Linked DNA regions of Homo sapiens: all the other regions are linked to region 5. Evidence: promoter capture Hi-C in 16 types of primary human blood cells and fetal thymus (Javierre and others, 2016). All regions are on one chromosome and are shown on one strand. The core of a region is centred on a gene start or on the middle of the fragment in contact, and the rest is flanking DNA. Distances in the headings are between cores, read along the strand shown.

Evidence for each region. The method cuts DNA at HindIII sites, captures the fragments that hold promoters and counts their contacts. A CHiCAGO score of 5 or more calls a contact.
Region 1: a fragment that was not itself captured here is called in contact with the fragment with the promoter of EVX1 in region 5 in 1 of 17 cell types (fetal thymus); the score reaches 5.2 in fetal thymus.
Region 2: a contact is called between a fragment that was not itself captured here and the fragment with the promoter of EVX1 in region 5, in 1 of 17 cell types (megakaryocytes). The highest score is 5.1, in megakaryocytes.
Region 3: a fragment that was not itself captured here is called in contact with the fragment with the promoter of EVX1 in region 5 in 1 of 17 cell types (naive CD4 T cells); the score reaches 5.1 in naive CD4 T cells.
Region 4: a contact is called between a fragment that was not itself captured here and the fragment with the promoter of EVX1 in region 5, in 2 of 17 cell types (fetal thymus and megakaryocytes). The highest score is 6.3, in fetal thymus.

The regions. Positions count from the first base shown.
Region 1 is chr7:28,038,101-28,041,636 of GRCh38, forward strand. All of the region lies in intron 1 of JAZF1 (JAZF zinc finger 1), which reads right to left. LOC105375208 (a long non-coding RNA gene) reads left to right here. Exons shown (of 4, transcript XR_001744910.3): 2 at 1-97. Among named protein-coding and RNA genes, the nearest start is that of JAZF1-AS1, 140 kb to the right of the region's middle. RefSeq lists an enhancer at 1. The HindIII fragment of the contact is 2,117 bases long and covers 635-2,751 here.
Region 2 is chr7:27,961,610-27,964,910 of GRCh38, forward strand. The region is part of intron 2 of JAZF1 (JAZF zinc finger 1); the gene reads right to left. Among named protein-coding and RNA genes, the nearest start is that of JAZF1-AS1, 220 kb to the right of the region's middle. The HindIII fragment of the contact is 1,386 bases long and covers 1,331-2,716 here.
Region 3 is chr7:28,095,033-28,098,383 of GRCh38, forward strand. The region is part of intron 1 of JAZF1 (JAZF zinc finger 1); the gene reads right to left. Among named protein-coding and RNA genes, the nearest start is that of JAZF1-AS1, 84 kb to the right of the region's middle. The HindIII fragment of the contact is 3,348 bases long and covers 1-3,000 here.
Region 4 is chr7:28,021,958-28,025,046 of GRCh38, forward strand. All of the region lies in intron 1 of JAZF1 (JAZF zinc finger 1), which reads right to left. Among named protein-coding and RNA genes, the nearest start is that of JAZF1-AS1, 160 kb to the right of the region's middle. The HindIII fragment of the contact is 341 bases long and covers 1,628-1,968 here.
Region 5 is chr7:27,241,533-27,244,669 of GRCh38, forward strand. It overlaps EVX1 (even-skipped homeobox 1), which reads left to right and starts at 1,270. Exons shown (of 3, transcript NM_001989.5): 1 at 1,270-1,925. The coding sequence starts at 1,499. EVX1-AS (EVX1 antisense RNA) reads right to left here. Exons shown (of 4, transcript NR_120507.1): 2 at 383-478; 3 at 17-109. RefSeq lists an enhancer at 888-1,765. The HindIII fragment of the contact is 5,233 bases long and covers 921-3,137 here.

The DNA of each region.
Region 1 (3,536 bases), core at 443-2,942, 800 kb after region 5:
GGAAGAAAATACCAGAACCAATGGGCTAATGCAACACAATACAAAGAACAGAGGAGAATGGGAATTTCCATGAAGTGGGTAACCTATTTTTGGCAAGGTAAATGAAACATTAACATATTATATTAGAGTAATTCAGGTGAAAGAAAACATACAGCCTATAAACTTTGGGATGGGGGAATGATTGTGGCAAATAGCTTCTCACTGTGCTTGTATTAGCATAACTAGTAGATATAAGCTCATTTTTCAGGGTTTTATGATTCTGACACTATAAATCCAAAGTAGACTTGAACTTGTTAAGTACATGATTCATATAATTTTGTTTACATAACTGAACTAAAGAAAGGAAGACAAGATAAAAATTCTACTACGGAATTTGTTGTTTTCTTTCAAGCATTTACAAATATTAGAGATAATCTTCCTTTTTATTTAAACAAAACTGTTTAACATCTGCTTTTTATAATATTGTTATTTCTTGTGAACATTCAGGTTTGAAACTCTTGTTCCCAAGAATTACTTGCAAATATCACATAACTAAAATTCCAAAAAAAGAAGCATGCACACACCCCATAACTCCAGCAAATCCTTGATTAACTGAAAGTCAAAACCCAACCAAACAGAATTCCAGATGAGCTGAAGCTTTTCCTTTCCATATGACTTTTATAAGAAAGTAGGAAACTACAAAAAAGATACAAATTTATTTAAAGCAAAAGATTTGCTGAACATATCGGTAGTTTAGTACATATTCAGCTTCACTGTCCATGCTTGGTATAAAGTATTGTACAAAAAACCATGCTCATGATGAGGTATGAACTGTTCCTTTTATCTCTACCTCAAATTCTTTTGTGGAACAAAGCAGAATGTAAGCAGGTATTATCTTTTATCTCTACAACTTTAATGCTTAGCACATTGATTAGACCTGCATACTAAAATATTTGTGTTAACAAATTAATAAAGAGTGGCAAATTAGAGGCAAAGCATGCTAAATTTAAAAAGATTCATGATTGCTCTGCATATGGAACGTAAGCTCATAGCATCTTAAGGTTTAAAGAGACCTTGGAGACTTACTTAGCCCTCCTTGGTGCAGGGCTCCTCCAAGAACATTCTAATGTTTTAAAAAATGCTTTGGTATTAGCTACCATATTGGGAACACACGCACATGCGCACGTGCATACAAACACACACACACACCCCTTATTATTTCAGTCTTATGAGATAGATGTATTTATCTTGCAACCGGGGAAACTGAGGTTCAGGAAGTGACAGAGGGAAGACAAGGAAGAAGAAAAAGTCAGAAAGAAGTGTAACATGTTTTTGCCAATTCTTTTCTATGGTCTAAGATCCAAGAATAAGTAAGAAATTAATCAGACAAGATGAAAATGTGCCTCCCCTGCCCCATGCAAATACCAATATTATAACTGACTTACTGAGATATATGAAGCTAAGATAGTCCCTGGAACACACTACACACATAAATGTTAGCTTCCTTTCTTTTCAGTATGTTACAGCATCTTGGGGACAAGTAAAGATATTTAGGACCCATTCTCAACTCTGAAAATTTTGGAATTATCGCATAACTAAAGAGAGTTATGAGGAATGCTAAAACCCTTTCCCCTAAGAATAATCAGTGTAATTGTGTTTCTTACTTTAATTTAAAATTCAACGTGTATATGTCTCCTTCCCCCCGCCCCAAGGATATAAATAACTGGAATGACTGAATACAGCACAAAATACAGACGTGGGGAAAGGGTGGCAGTTTTAACTTTGAAATTCACTATACTTGTCAGTTAAAGTCAGGCCTAAAGCATTAATTTATTCTGAAACATTAATTAACTGGAGCTTTTTTGCATTTAATTTTCTCTGGCATTTTGGAATTTATTCTAAGCCCTGTGGAAATGGCAGGTCTGATGTTATTAAAGTTAGCCTTTCAGAAAGTCCTCAAACTGAAGACTCCTACACATTAAAAAATGCTGAGAGTCCAGATAATGCAAACCTAAAGTATTATTAAAGGGTATTCTTTACACATGAAAGAAAAACCTTACGTTTATTAAAAATGAATTAAACTGTCAGAAGTCTTCAATTTTACATAATGTTTGAGCCCTTTAAACACATAAAAAAAATCTAAAGCCAGTTTCATTTTTTTATTCATTCATTCACCCACTCCTTTAAGAATCTGTTGAGTGCCAACTATGTGCCAGGCAGATACTGCTCCAAGTGGGGCAAGCAAGGTCCTGTTCTTGTGCAGTTTACAATCTAGATGGGAAAATAACAAACAACAAATATGTAAGAAAATATCGAAGAGAGATGAGTACTATAAAGAAAATTAAAGAGTAATGTAATCAAGAGTGACTGGTAAGGCCTCTGTGAAGAGGAAGAACTTATGTCAAGTCCTAAATGATCAGCAGTTGGCTACACAAAGTCTGGGGGTAAACATCTCAGAGAGAGGGATACACGGTGCCACAGTGGGGAGGTGGGAATGAGCCAGACAGGTGTGAGGAGGAGGAAGGCAGCCATAGAGTCTAGGCCACCCGGCAGATGAGGGTGTCGGGGTGTAGAAGTGTGTTTGGTGGGATCAAGAGTTGTATTTTGGACATATGGAGTTTTAGATACCCACTTAAAAGAATGGTATGATAAAACACTAATGTACAGCAATTCCATGATCGCCCAGAGTTAAGAGAGGAATTGGGAATGGAATTCAGAGATGGATGCCAGTGACTGCAGCGACGTAAGGTAGAAGACCACAATTCTCTAACAAGCTTTATCCCAAGAATCACTTTAGATATTCCATTTAATCGGCTAATATTTAATTTAATATGCCCCAAATTCAACATAGCAGACACTATGTTCCTTAATGTTCTATTAAGGAAAGGAAGAAGACCCATCTAGAAACCACAGAGATTATTTCTATTACATAGATAACACAGTGTGCTCTCAAAGACACAAATTCTTTCAGAAATGCATATAAATGGGTGCCCTAGATATATGTGGCAAAATTTTTTAAAAATTAAAATGTGTGTAATCAGAGAGAGTATTTGGAGAACGTAAGAGCAAAAGGCTTTCTAGGGGTGGTTCACAACACAAATAACTATTGTTTACCTGGAGAATGTGTGTTTGAGCCCAGTTCTGTGCATGTCTGCATGGGTGTGAGTGCACGAGTGTGTATGATTTGATATTGCTGACGGTGGAGGGAGGGAAGTTCACCCTCTTTCCAAGTCAGATTGCCCAAATGATTATACCTCCTTGCTTGGGATGCTTTGAGCTTGACTTTAGATGGATAAATAGTTTATAATTTGGTATAAGCTATTTTTTAAAAGGTGACATTTTTTAAAAGGTATGGGAAAAATGAAACTAGACATCTTGCTATGCAAATTTCTGAGGCAGCACAGAATTCCATGGCCACATCTACTTCCCAAGACACAGCCTTCCAGAAGCCAGTGAGATATCACCGCTTCTTGTGCCTCTTTACTTTCCAAGACATGTTTGTGTCTGAGCCTCATCAGCCTAAGGGCAAGACCTACATACTTCAGATGATTTGCATT
Region 2 (3,301 bases), core at 774-3,273, 720 kb after region 5:
CAGAGGTGGCAGGAAAGAAGGAAAAAGGGACAGGTTTTGCCAGATTACAGAAGAATTCCTTTTTGGATAAAGAATAGAATGCCGACTTTGATGCTAGCTGGACTTGTCCACCAGTCAATATAAAACAAGGAAACATTGTCATTTAAACAGTTCCAGTAGGAGCTCCGGACAGAGCAACACTGCATTTTAAGGGGGAAATTGTACACCCATGCCATGGTATTTGAGAATCTAGGGATTCATGATGCTCTCCGGATCTTTCCATCATGGGTATCAAAGGTTTACTGTCATCACCTAGAGGCAGAAGGCTATATGCTGGTCCAGGACTTTGGCACTGGAGAGACCTGAGTTCAAATCCCAGCTCCACTAGTGGTGAGTAACCTTTTTGAGCTCTGTTACCTTATCTATAAAATGAAGATGGCATCTCAGCCATAATAATAGATTATTTAAATAGTGATCATAAACACTCTTTGCTTTTTCATATCAACTTTTGTTTGATGTGAATTCTTGAGAGTCTTCATGTACAACAACACGATTCACTGCAGTATGGATATTCTCACTTAATTTATTGAATATTTACCAAAAACAAGACTAACTGTACACAAGAGGAAATACACATAGGTAAGAAGTATGAAATCATTTTCCTCAACATTTTCTGATTGTAGATGTGCCTTTGTTGATGTTATGTTAAAAAAGGGTAAAAGTGATCATAGTAATATTCAGGAAATTACCCTGACAACCATACCCATTAAGTGTTAGGAAGGCCAAGCCTCACAGTTCATATGCATCACTTATGAAAAGTTTATCCAACTGGCTCTCATGGCTGGGTGATTCACAGTCTTCCCCAATCCACAGAGAGTCAAGACTTGCTTTTCTAAAAACAGAAAGCTTTCATGCTAATCCTGGAATCTCTGAGGGACAAGAGAAGCCAAAGGGATCAGTCCTTGTATTTTATAAATGGTGGATACAAGTTATATTTGGAATCCCATATTGAATGCAGAACTAACAAATCCATAGAGGAAAGGCAGTAGGCTTTGCCAGCCCATAAATTAATTACCTTTAATGGCCAGGCTTAGGGTAAAAGCAAGAAGATATGCAAGGGCTTCCCTATCTGCTGCTTTCATTTTGTATTTAGTCCTGGAATTAAAATCACGTCTAATCAGCAAGAAAAGCAGTTGTTTTAAAAACAGTAACATGCTGAGGGGAGAATTTCCCCTGATATTCTAGGGAATTTGAACTTTGGCCCTTGCTGTGGAATAATCCTACATATGCCTTTCTGAAATACACTGCAAATCTTTTTTGTCCTTGTTAAATGAATAGACTGAAGCTCTGAAGCTTAACAGAAATGATCTACCCACTATCCCTCCTTTTAAAACTTCACTGTGTGGGGTTAGCATTCACCTGTTTAATAAACTCAGCAAGCTGAACATGGCAAACCTTCATTATTAGGGAATCTGAATTCCAAATTCAGATTGTGCTGCAAAGTTTAATTCTTTGGGATGGATTTTCTGTGAATGAAGGGGAATACATAATAATACAGAATTTTCTGGGGAATATGTTCTCATGTATACTACGTTACAATTTGGCATACAGCATTCTGCAAACATTTTCTATTTAAGTCAAGGACAATTTTAGGAGTATGGTAATAATCATGTTCCTCCATATCACAGTTAAATTTCAATTAACTTTAAATTGGAAACAATGTAGCTTTGGAGCTCTCTTTCCAACTGTTAAGAGGATCAGAGCAAATGCTTGGATGAGGAAAAAAAACTACTCTTTTATTTCATTCCAAATTCAAAATTGCCATGCTTGTTCCCTATGATTACTCATATTAAGTTATAATGGTAAATTGGGGGTAGCTGTCAATCCTGGGGTCTTGCACATTGTTGTGATGTGTCACAAACATTCAAATAATTGCACAAATGATAGCAAATGGATCAATGTTTGCAATTCCCCCCCCCCCTTTTTTTTTGGAGACAGGGTCTTGCTCTGTCATCTAGGCTGGAGTGCAGTGGTGCAATCACAGTTCACTGCAGCCTTGATCTCCTGGCCTCAAGTGATCCTCCTACCTCAGCCTCCCGAGTAGCTGAGACTGTAGGTGCACGTCACCACACCGGTTTTGTTTTGTTTTGTTTTGTTTTGGTAGAGGCAAGGTCTTGCTACATTGCCCAGGCTGATTTCAAACTCCTGGGATCAAGCAATTCTCCTACCTTGGGCTCCCAAAGTGCTGGGATTAAGGCATGAGCCAACATGCCAGGCAATGGCTCCATTTTTAATAAACTGAAGTAGATTGAAGATTAAAGGGCTGGATGTAAGCAGCACTTTCTTTTAACACAATTTCTTCAATGAAGAATGAGGACAACATCTGAATTGGTTGCTTATATACCTATATACCCATAATATAGTGATGGCAATTGTGAATTTCTCTAGTGCTTCCATTATACCCTCTTCCTCCAACATGTTTTGGGATTTAGTAAAAAGACTAAGTTTTCCCTTGGAAATGTTTAATGAATATTATCATCCAAAACACACAAAAATTGTTACAAAAATTGGAAACTCACTGGTAAATAGCATTGTAACATCTGTATCCTTTTTCCCCAGTCCAACCACTTCTGAGAAAAGGTTCTATGAAAATGATCTAAAGGGAAAAAGATCCATTAGGTGGATCTTTTTTGGAACAATGAAAAATGTTTGCTTCAGTGTAATTTATAATAATGAAAGCTTGTAAGCAGCCATCATGACGAAATGAAGGGCATGTTTCGGTGAACTCTATCTTATGGAATATTATGTGGCCACTAAAACAGTAATTTTGAAGATGCAGCAACATGGAGAATGCTCATGATACAATAGTTAAATGTATGACCCAATTAGAATCTTGCCACAGATGCTTATAAAATTAGAATGGGACTCAAAAAATTGAACCACTGAACCTAAAATATTGTACAAGAATGGGTACAATATAAATGATCCACCCCTACCACCAAAACCATTTTCAAAGCTTACTTTTTACTATTTCCCTAATAATCAGAAAAAGTTTTTTTTTTTAAAATGGCTGACACAGTATATTACGTTTTTAAAAAGAAGTCAAGCAGAAGATGACCAAGGAAATCAAAGGAAAAAAGAACCAACATATTTTGGTAGTCATGAATCTTACCAAAGGCTAGTTGGGTCACCTCAGATGCCAACAATGGTAACTCATGAATCTGTTAGTCCTTAAAATATTGGCTAAAATGGTCAAACTAATCTCAATAAAAGTCATTTTAAAAAGAAAGAGAGCAAGAGAGATGCCTTTCCCAGTATATCT
Region 3 (3,351 bases), core at 77-2,576, 850 kb after region 5:
CCCAAGGGTGTGCCATCTCCGAATCTGAGAAGCTCCCACAGCACCAAAGCCAAACCACTTTCAAGGCTCCACGCAACCTCTCCCATCTTATTCCCACAAGTCTTCAGTTTCATCCCAGTCCCTCTCTTCATTCTCCATCAAGAGCACCACAATCATTCTACATATTTGTTCACTCTGTTGGGCCTCCTAGGCAAGCCCTGTATTAGTCCATTTTTATACTGCTATGAAGAACTGCCCAAGACTGGGTTATTTATAAAGGAAAGAGGTTTAATTGTCTCACAGTTCAGCATTATCGGGGAGGCCTCAGGAAACTTACGATCATGGCGGATGGTGAAGGGGAAGCAAAACATGATCTTCACAAGCAGGGAGGAAGGAGAAGTGCCAAGTGAAGGGGGAGGAGCCCCTTACAAAGCCATCAGATCTTGTGAGAACTAACTCACTATCATGAGAACAGCATGGGGGAAACCACCCCCATGATTCAATTACCTACAGCTGGTCTCTCCTTTGACACGTGGGGATTATGGGGAGTATAATTCAAGATGAGATTTGGGTGGGTACACAAACCCTAACCATATCAAGTCCCTACCTCAAGGAGTTCTCTGGCTTTCTGCTCATCTTCAGTCCACCTGTCCTTCTAGCAGAGCCTCTGCTGCCTTCCAACAGGTAATCATGGTCCCCTCCGCTGAACGTCAAATCCCTGTGAGATCCTAAGAGGGCATCAGTCAGCTTAGGCTGCCATAACAGAATACCACAGCCAGAGTGGCCTGAACAACAGAAGCAATTCTGGAGGGCAGAAGTCCCAGATCAAGGCACCATCAGGACTGTTCTGCTGAGGCCTTGCTTCCTGGCTCATAGGCTGGCCCTCTTGCTGTGTCCTCACACGGCTGAGACGGAGAGCTCTGGTGCTCCTCCTCTTCTTATACTAGCACTAGCCTTTACTGGGCCCCAACCGTATGACTCATTTAACCTTCATCATCCCCTCAAAGGCTCCATCTCCAAATATCCTGGGGGTTAGGGCTTCAACATATGAAATTTGGGGGGGGCACAAACATTCCATAGCATCAAGGATGGCGTGAGACAGAAGACACTAAAAGGGAGAGGGATAAGCAGAACTGAGAGGGAGGCCACTGAAGAGAGAAGTGGGAGGCAGGGCCTCTGTCCGCTCTTGGAGTTGGAGAAAACAAGAATGAAGGGAACAAGAGGGCCAGTGGTTAGGGTTGTCCGAGAAGTTCTGTGGTGAGGAAAAAACTATGAGTAAAAGGCAACACTTTTGGTTATAAAGCACAATAAGCTATGACAAGAAGCAGTCCTTTGCTGTTAATTCTCTGAAGGTTAACTTGACTGGACCATATATGTCGGAAATGACCTTTCCCTTGTCATAAAAATAACTGAAACCCTTACAGACATAATGAAAATCTTACTATCCACTATTGAGCAAGGAAAAACATCTATAATCAAATTAAATATTTTGTCTTTTAAGTGCATTAGCAAAATGATTTACATAAGAACTACACTTTTCACATAATCATTCATGCATGTTGATAGACGATTCAAGGAAAAATTCATAAAACAGAACTGCAGCTCAAATCTGTTCTGAACAATTTATCTTCTTACTACAAGATGGCCAATAAGAGACTATTTTTTAACTTTTTCATTTGCAATTTTTTTTTTAATTCTCAAATTGCATCTATATCTCAAATAAAGTAATGGGAACATTCTAGCTCTGGGGTGTGGAAAAGCAGCCATGGCCGTGGGAAGCTGACTGCAAATGAAACACTGGCTTACACTGCCCTCTGCTGGTATACTGACCACATTTCAAGTTCCTTCGTTTTTACAAAGTTGCCAAAAGACGTTCAGTATTTTGAAACAGCAAATTCAAGCCTAATTACTAAGAACAGGTTGTGGAAAATATTACCAAGTGGCTTAAATGCCATCTGCACCACATCAGGCACACATTCCTAATGAAAAGGGCACATGTGTAGAAAGAAATGGTGCCAAATCACACCTGCTAACCTAATATAAAGGGTTTTTAACTAACTCTTTAAAATATGCATTAAGTTAACAATAATGCCTTTAAATCACCCCCCACCCCCACTTTCCCACCCAACCTCTGCCACACTAACCAACTTTTCAGAAAACAAATATTGCAAAAAATGAAATCTTGGCTCCCACCACTGCATTTGGGCCTCTGCTTAAATCAGCTCAGCAATAAATAACTGCATGTTACCACAGTTTACAAAATTCATTTTCTAAGTACAGACTTTTTTTTTAAATTTAGATGCTGCTAATTTGCCAGAATGTTGCTGGAAAACATGCCATTTGTTTAAACACATACAACATCAGCCTCCATTAAAATGATTACAGCATCAATTCAAAAGTCTGAAGCATTTATTAGGTGTCTCTAATTCCACAGAGCCTTTTACTAAGCCCTGTATAAATTAGTTAAGCCAAATTCCTGCCTCAGAGCTTGTTTCCTAAAATAGATGAAGTCACACACATTGATACAATAGAACAACACAGGTACATTAACTTAAGTGAATGGACCTACATTGTGTTCTGAAGCAAGAAATGGGAGAGCTGAAGGAGCTGGATATATAAAGGGTGGGGCAAGAAGAAATCACAGCTGTCTACGAATCAGTCAGCAAGTCCTTTGGGAGGAGGTGGGATTTCAGGTAGCTGAATGAAGGGGAAGGTTCGGGGAGCTAAAAAGAAAGGTGGCAGCCACAGGCCTGCTAGAGTCTGGGAGGTCATTTTGCATGTAGAAATGGGAGGGTGACAGGAAAGAGGTAAATCTTGGAAATGCCATGACTCCCAGCAGCCACACAGCAATCTGCTTTAACCAAACCCAGAACACTATGCACTTCTGCACAGGGGTGCCCAGCTCCAGGCTACTCATTAAATTCTCAAACCATTCCATAACGTAGTTATTATTATTAAATCTCATGATGAAACTGAAGCACACAAAACGGAACATTTTGTCTCTAGACCCCAGAAACCTTAAGCTTGCTACTATGGACTGAATGTCTGTGTCCCCTTAAATTCCTATGTTGAATCTGTAATCCGCAATGTGATGATATTTGGAGTGAAGCCTTTGGGAGATGATCAGGTCATGAGGGTCTCTGGATGGGATTAGTGCCCTCATAAGAAGAGAAACCAGAGAGTTTTTCTTCTCCCTCTCCCTCTCTCCCTGACATATGTGGACGTAGCGAGAAGACAGCTATCCACAAACCAGGTAGCAGGCCCTCACCAGGAAGTGAATCGGCCAGCACCTTGATCTCAGATTCCCCAGCCTCCAGAACTGTGGGAAATAAATGATTGTGTGTAAGCCAAACAGTCTGCAGTATTTTGTTG
Region 4 (3,089 bases), core at 548-3,047, 780 kb after region 5:
CAATACTTGCCTCTTTTGGTTGCTGTGAAGATTAAATGAGAAAATGCAAGTGAATGGACAAATGACTGGGAAAAGGCTCAATAAAAGATAACTGCTATGAGAGCCGCACCTGCTAGAGTCCTAGCTGCCAACTTCACAGAAAGCACTGAAGACTGTTTTCTATGAAACCCAGTCTCAAAGACCTAAGGATATGCTCAGATAAATCAGACAGCATTGAACAATATCGTCACAACAATATTTTCTAAGAGATTTGTTAAGAAAATTGGGTTTTCATCTGAATTTCTCCATATTATGTAACTTTCCCACTTCTTAAGCATAGCTTTCAAAAACACACCATGGCAGCACTGCCCTTAACTGCTTTTCCAGAAAAAATCTTTTCAAATTTCCACCAAAAGAATGCAGTTGGCACCACCTTTTCCTGACCGTTCTAACAAATGGATAAACTTTGCTGCAATGAGACAGTTTAGGACAACATCTGCTCCTATCTGCCAACAAAGTTCAGCTGTGGCTTCTGACACTAGGGGAAGAAAATCTCTTCCTTTAAAAAATAATAACATTTATACTTTTTTGTTGATCAAAAATAACAGATGACTACAGAAAAAGTGGAAAATCTAGAAAATTATAAAAAACAAGTTACCCATAATCAACTATCCAAACATAGTTCAGGCTGTGCATTTTACTATATCCTTTACTATTCTCTTAGTCTTCTTTGCATATATATTTTTAAAATGGAGTCAGTCTTATCTTTTCACTTATTATACCTGAAGATTTTCTTTAATATTTCACTGTTGTTGTTGTTTTTGTTGTTGTTTGTTTGTTTTGAGATGGAGTCTCTGTTGTCCAGGCTGGAGTGCAACGGCATGATCTTGGCTCACTGCAACCTCCGCTGCCCAGGTTCAAGTGATTCTCGTGTCTCAGCCTCCCGAGTAGCTGGGATTACAGGCACGTGCCACCATATTTCACTTTGTAAAAAATTACCAAATTACATAAAGCTGTGCTGGATGTCAGGCAGTATTGAAAGAGATGTGAGGTGAAGTCTTTATTCTCTAGAGGTCGGTGCTTCGTGAGGATACAAGACAAACACACAGGAAAAACAAATAATGGTATACAATAATGATGGTATACAAGAATGACTTAAGACAGGGGTAGTACAAACAACGTCTGTGAGGTTCACACCTAGATGAGATTACCATGGCCTAGAATGGCCTTGCAAGGACTCCATGAAGGAAGACAGAAACGAGTCCAGCCGTGAAGCATTGTAGTTCTATAGAAAATTTTGAAGTGATAATGACTAATTTACCTCCCTTTCTCCAATATACCGAAGGACAGATTCACTGAAGTAATTTCCCTTGCTAAGCCTTTGCTCTTATGGACAAAGCTGAGCTCCCACAAAAGCTGTTTTTCAAATATCATAAATGAGGATGTAAGTAATTCGAAACGATTTTCCAATTATGTTTGCATTCATGAGGAAAACTAAGGTTTTAAGAGAAAATAAAAAAGGTTATCTGAAGAATTAGAAGTGAATTCTGAAATTCCAGATTCCTGGTGTCTAAATAACACATAATACAAGAATTAGCAAGAATCTACTCCACACATGATATTGAAACTTGGAACCACTTAACAACCAAGCTTAATTCCTAGGACAGACCTTCCTGCTTAACCTGTATTCATCCACTCATCCATTCAGGAAATACTGTTAAGTATTTTAGAATGCGTGTTAATGAGTCCAGCACTGGGCTAGGCGCTAAGGCAAAGTGAACCATACGGACAGGTTCCTGCCCTCATGGAGTGGACAGTTTTAGTAAGAGAGAGGCTGACAGGTAGACAGACAATGACAGCCCAATGTAATAAATGCTTGGTAAATTAAGCTACCTTAAGGACTTATAGATGCTATAGATATAAATGCTTCATTAAGAAATGAGCACCTAGAAAAAACACTATATTAACCTACACTTGGAAAATTAGGAAAGCTTCTTAGAATAGATAACATTTAAGTTTAAGGAAGAAGAGCAGAAAGTCAGGAGCGGCAGTAAAAGAAATATCTAGGGCTAGGCACAGTGGCTCATGCCTGACATGCTAGCACTTTGGGAGGCCAAGGTGGGAGGATTGCTTGAGGTCAGGACTTCAAGACCAACCTGGGCAGCATAGCAAGACCCATCTCTAAAAAAAAAAAATAAAATAAAAAATTTAAAAATGAATATGGTGGCACCACCTGTAGTCCCAGCTACTCAGGAGGTTGCGGCGGAAGGACTGCTTAAGCCCACGAGGTTGAGGCTGCAGTGAGATGTAATCACGCCACCACATTCCAGTTTGGGTGATAGAACAAGACTCTGTCACAAAAAGAAAAACAAAGAGAGAGAGAGAGATGTTTAAGAAGAGAGAACAGCATATTAAAAGTTCTAAGGGAGAGAAAAAAACATGGTGAAAGAGTGGAAAAAAGATATTCAGAATGGCTGGGTCCAAGGGTGGAGAAAGGAGGATTTTGGTGAGCTAGAGGTATGCACATACATAACCAGGTGTGGGCATGTGTGTATACACACATACTCATTTAGACCTCAAAACAATCCTCCCATAATTATCATCATTTTGAAGATGAGGAAACAGGTATGAGAACACTAGTTGGTGATAAACAATAAGTAGCCAAAGGACCCTGAATGGAAGAGGGACATGATGAATTTTGCATCTCTGGCAAAATACCAATGATGCAGTGTAGAGAATGCTTTGGAAGATAGGAAGTGATGATAAAATCTTTATTAAGCTTCCCAGAGAGATTAAAGGGCTCACTTTCTGTCATCTGACATGCCATGCCCTGAGCCTGCAACTTGAGAGATCATGAAACGCAGACAGAACCTTTTCCTTCAAGGAGTTTATAATCTACCAGGGGCAACAAGCATATTGGGACACTGGGTGCTCTCTGTATTGCTTGACAAGGATTCCATAGACCAACTACTTTCTAAAGCACCATGACCAGCAGAATCATAGACTGAGGTTCCTTCTTTGAAAGACAGCCAAGCTTCTTGCAGGAAGAGAAAGCCCTGACCACAGGGAAACAGTGACCACAGCTACAGCCCAAGCTCTTCTCTGGGTCT
Region 5 (3,137 bases), core at 20-2,519:
CAGAGTCCCTACTTACTTGCTGTTTTAGGGCATTTTCAGCGACTTCACTCTCTTCTACCTCAAACGCCATCCACTTTTGGAGACAGGTACCACTGCCCCTAGGCAGGGACTTGGGAGAGGACCTTATGAGTCAAACCTCTATGAACCCCAACCTTTTTGTACTCGGGGAGGCTGAACCCCTGCCCAAAATAGCGCGGTGAAAGCTACTGCCTTCTCCCAAGTAGGGGCCTCCAGTACTGCCACAGCAGGGGCCGCATTCCTGGCGCCTCTTCATTCGAAAAACCTCTTTCCAGGAGACTTCGCTGATTCTGAACGAATACTTTAAAATATGGGCAAGGGAAAAAAAAAGACAACTCTTAGAAACTCTCCCCACCCAACATACCTGGAGTGCAGGCGAGGTCCAGGCAAACGGGAAAGCGACTTCTTGTACGAATAGCCATCTCAAGATGAAGCCAGGCTGTGGAAAACTTAAGGCCATCTAGATGGGAAGGAGGTATTTAAAAGAAATCAGCACACACTCTTACAGAAGCCAAGGCGGGTCTTTAAATTAAAAAATAATAATAAGGTATTTATTTCTTGCCCCTTAGGGAAGAAAAATAGCAAAGTTTGGTTCGCAGGAGTAAGGAGACAGAGGTGGGTAGGGAGAGGGAGGAGAAAAGAGGAAAAGATGGCCCAGCCTCAAGCTCTCCAGTCAACTTGGGGCGGGGGAATACATTTTTCCGTAGCTTGTAAAAAGACTTTTCAGCCAGTTTGAGGTTAGCTGCCAGGGGCAGACAGTTGTAATAATGCCGACAGAATTGAGGCTTGTAAGCCGGGCTTCACACTTCTAAAATGCAGTTATGGATTCTTTCATCGGTGTTAGATCAAGGCACCAAGTTAAGAAAACAAAAGTCAAAACAACAATAAAAGAAAAAATCAAAAGCTTATTTAATTACCGAGTCCCGCTGCCCCTGCGGAACTCGCCGCGCGCGTTAAGCTCTCTTTTCTTTCTGCGGAATTCCATTTGCATCCCCTCTGCCTGGGTGTCTCCCTCTCTCAGTGTGTGTGTCTCTCTGTCTGTTTTCACACTCTCCTCCCCAATCGAGCGAGGCCCACACCTGGCGCATCACTGCCGAGCCATTAGCTGCGGGTTTCCTTTCATCTTCGCTGTGGCAGACGTTTCTATTTATCCACTTGCGCTCGCCGAGTGGCGTCACCAGCGGTACTGTAATGACGATTGCAGCAGGAGGATGACAGCTTAGAAAGAAGAGGGCAATGGGGCTTCCTCCCAGAGGCGGTGCGGCACAGAGGAGCGCTCGCTTCACAAGGTGACCCTAGCTCCCACCGCCACCGCCGCGGTCGCGGTCCAGACCGCGCTCCAGCAGCTCCGCGCCCTCCCAGGCACCCGGCCTTTCTTTCTCCCTCTTGCAACCAAGATCCGTCCGGCCGCTGGAGACCCAGGGAGCCGGGGTTAGGAACTCACTTGGGGCTTTCCCCTCCCCCACCGGAGAGCCCCGGGATGGAGAGCCGAAAGGACATGGTTGTGTTTCTGGATGGGGGTCAGCTTGGCACTCTGGTTGGCAAGAGAGTCTCAAATTTGTCCGAAGCCGTGGGCAGCCCGCTGCCGGAGCCGCCCGAGAAAATGGTGCCCCGTGGTTGCCTGAGCCCTCGGGCCGTCCCTCCGGCCACCCGGGAGCGCGGCGGGGGAGGCCCGGAGGAGGAGCCGGTAGATGGACTCGCAGGCAGCGCGGCGGGGCCGGGCGCCGAGCCCCAGGTAGCTGGGGCGGCCATGCTCGGCCCAGGACCCCCGGCCCCCTCAGTCGACAGCCTCTCCGGACAGGGGCAACCCAGTAGCTCGGACACCGAGTCGGATTTCTATGAAGAAATCGAGGTGAGCTGCACCCCGGACTGCGCCACCGGGAACGCCGAGTACCAGCACAGCAAAGGTAGCCACCGTGCCCCTCCGCTCCCCGGGCCTCCCACTGCGCCCACCCTTCACTTCGGCGCAGGCCAGGAGGAAGACACTCCCTTCCCCTAGGGCAGGATGGCTGGGGGGACCCACCTGAGCAACTCTCTCTGCTATCTGCGTTCTGGCGGGGGTCTCCTACTGTGTTCTGGCATTGGCGGGACTGAGGGTGACAGCAGTGCCTTGAGTGCGGGGTGCTGAGGGGGCGGATGCAAGTCCTGGACTTGGGGGATTCGAAGCTCACCCCAAGCACCCAGTGTTTCAACTGCTCGGGGAATGCTTCAATTGCTCGGGGAAGACACTTTCCCCAGGCGAGGGCAAGATCAAACGCCGATCCGGGCAGTTTGTGGCTGGCAGGGTGTAAGAGGCATGGAGGCGCGGAAGCCAGGAGTCCATAAAGGACCGTAAAATTGCGGCCCACTTGGGCAGCCCGGGTGCTGCAGCCCTCCGACCAGTTTGCACGTCGGTCAGAGGTCCAAATTACCTTGTCACTTCCCGGGCTTCGCGGCGCCAGGTCGGAAATGGTCCCAATGGTCTAATTGCCTTTGGTCTCCGGTTGCATTTGAAAAGGCAGAGATCGGGTCCTCCCCCCTTCCCCTTTCCTTCCTAGTCCCACTTCTCCACCCAAAGGAAAAGGAGCTGCAGGGGGCTGGAGCCCCACCCTTCTCAGAGGTAGGCCCAAAGGGGGGCTGGTTTAACTGGAGAACCCCTCCCCACCAAAGGCTAATGGGAAAGGGGTGGATAGCCCGGAAGGGAGTTTCCCTCTGTGCCAACAATCACCTCCCCAGAAGGGGGTAGAAAACTGGGCGCGGGTTGGTGGGGGGGAGGAGAGGGGAGCCCACCAGCAGACACTCCTCCACAGAACTGTAGGAGTGGGTGGAAAGAGCCTGGGGGCGGGGGGGAGAAAGACCACCCCCTGGTCTTGGCAGCCAACGCCTTGTTGAATACCTGCACCTACCCCTTACTATCTTATCACCGATTTCACCCAGCCTCCTTCCCATAACCCTCAGAACAACCTGGACTCCACTCACATATACTAAGGTAATAAATAAGATACTCAACATGCATTCTCACTCCAGCCCTGCAATACACGGAACCTAGTACACATTCCCACACCTGTTCTGGCAGCCCGTCACACATAAGAGCAAGGAAACTCTCTGAATGCCCAGCATACTACAATGCACTTGACCCA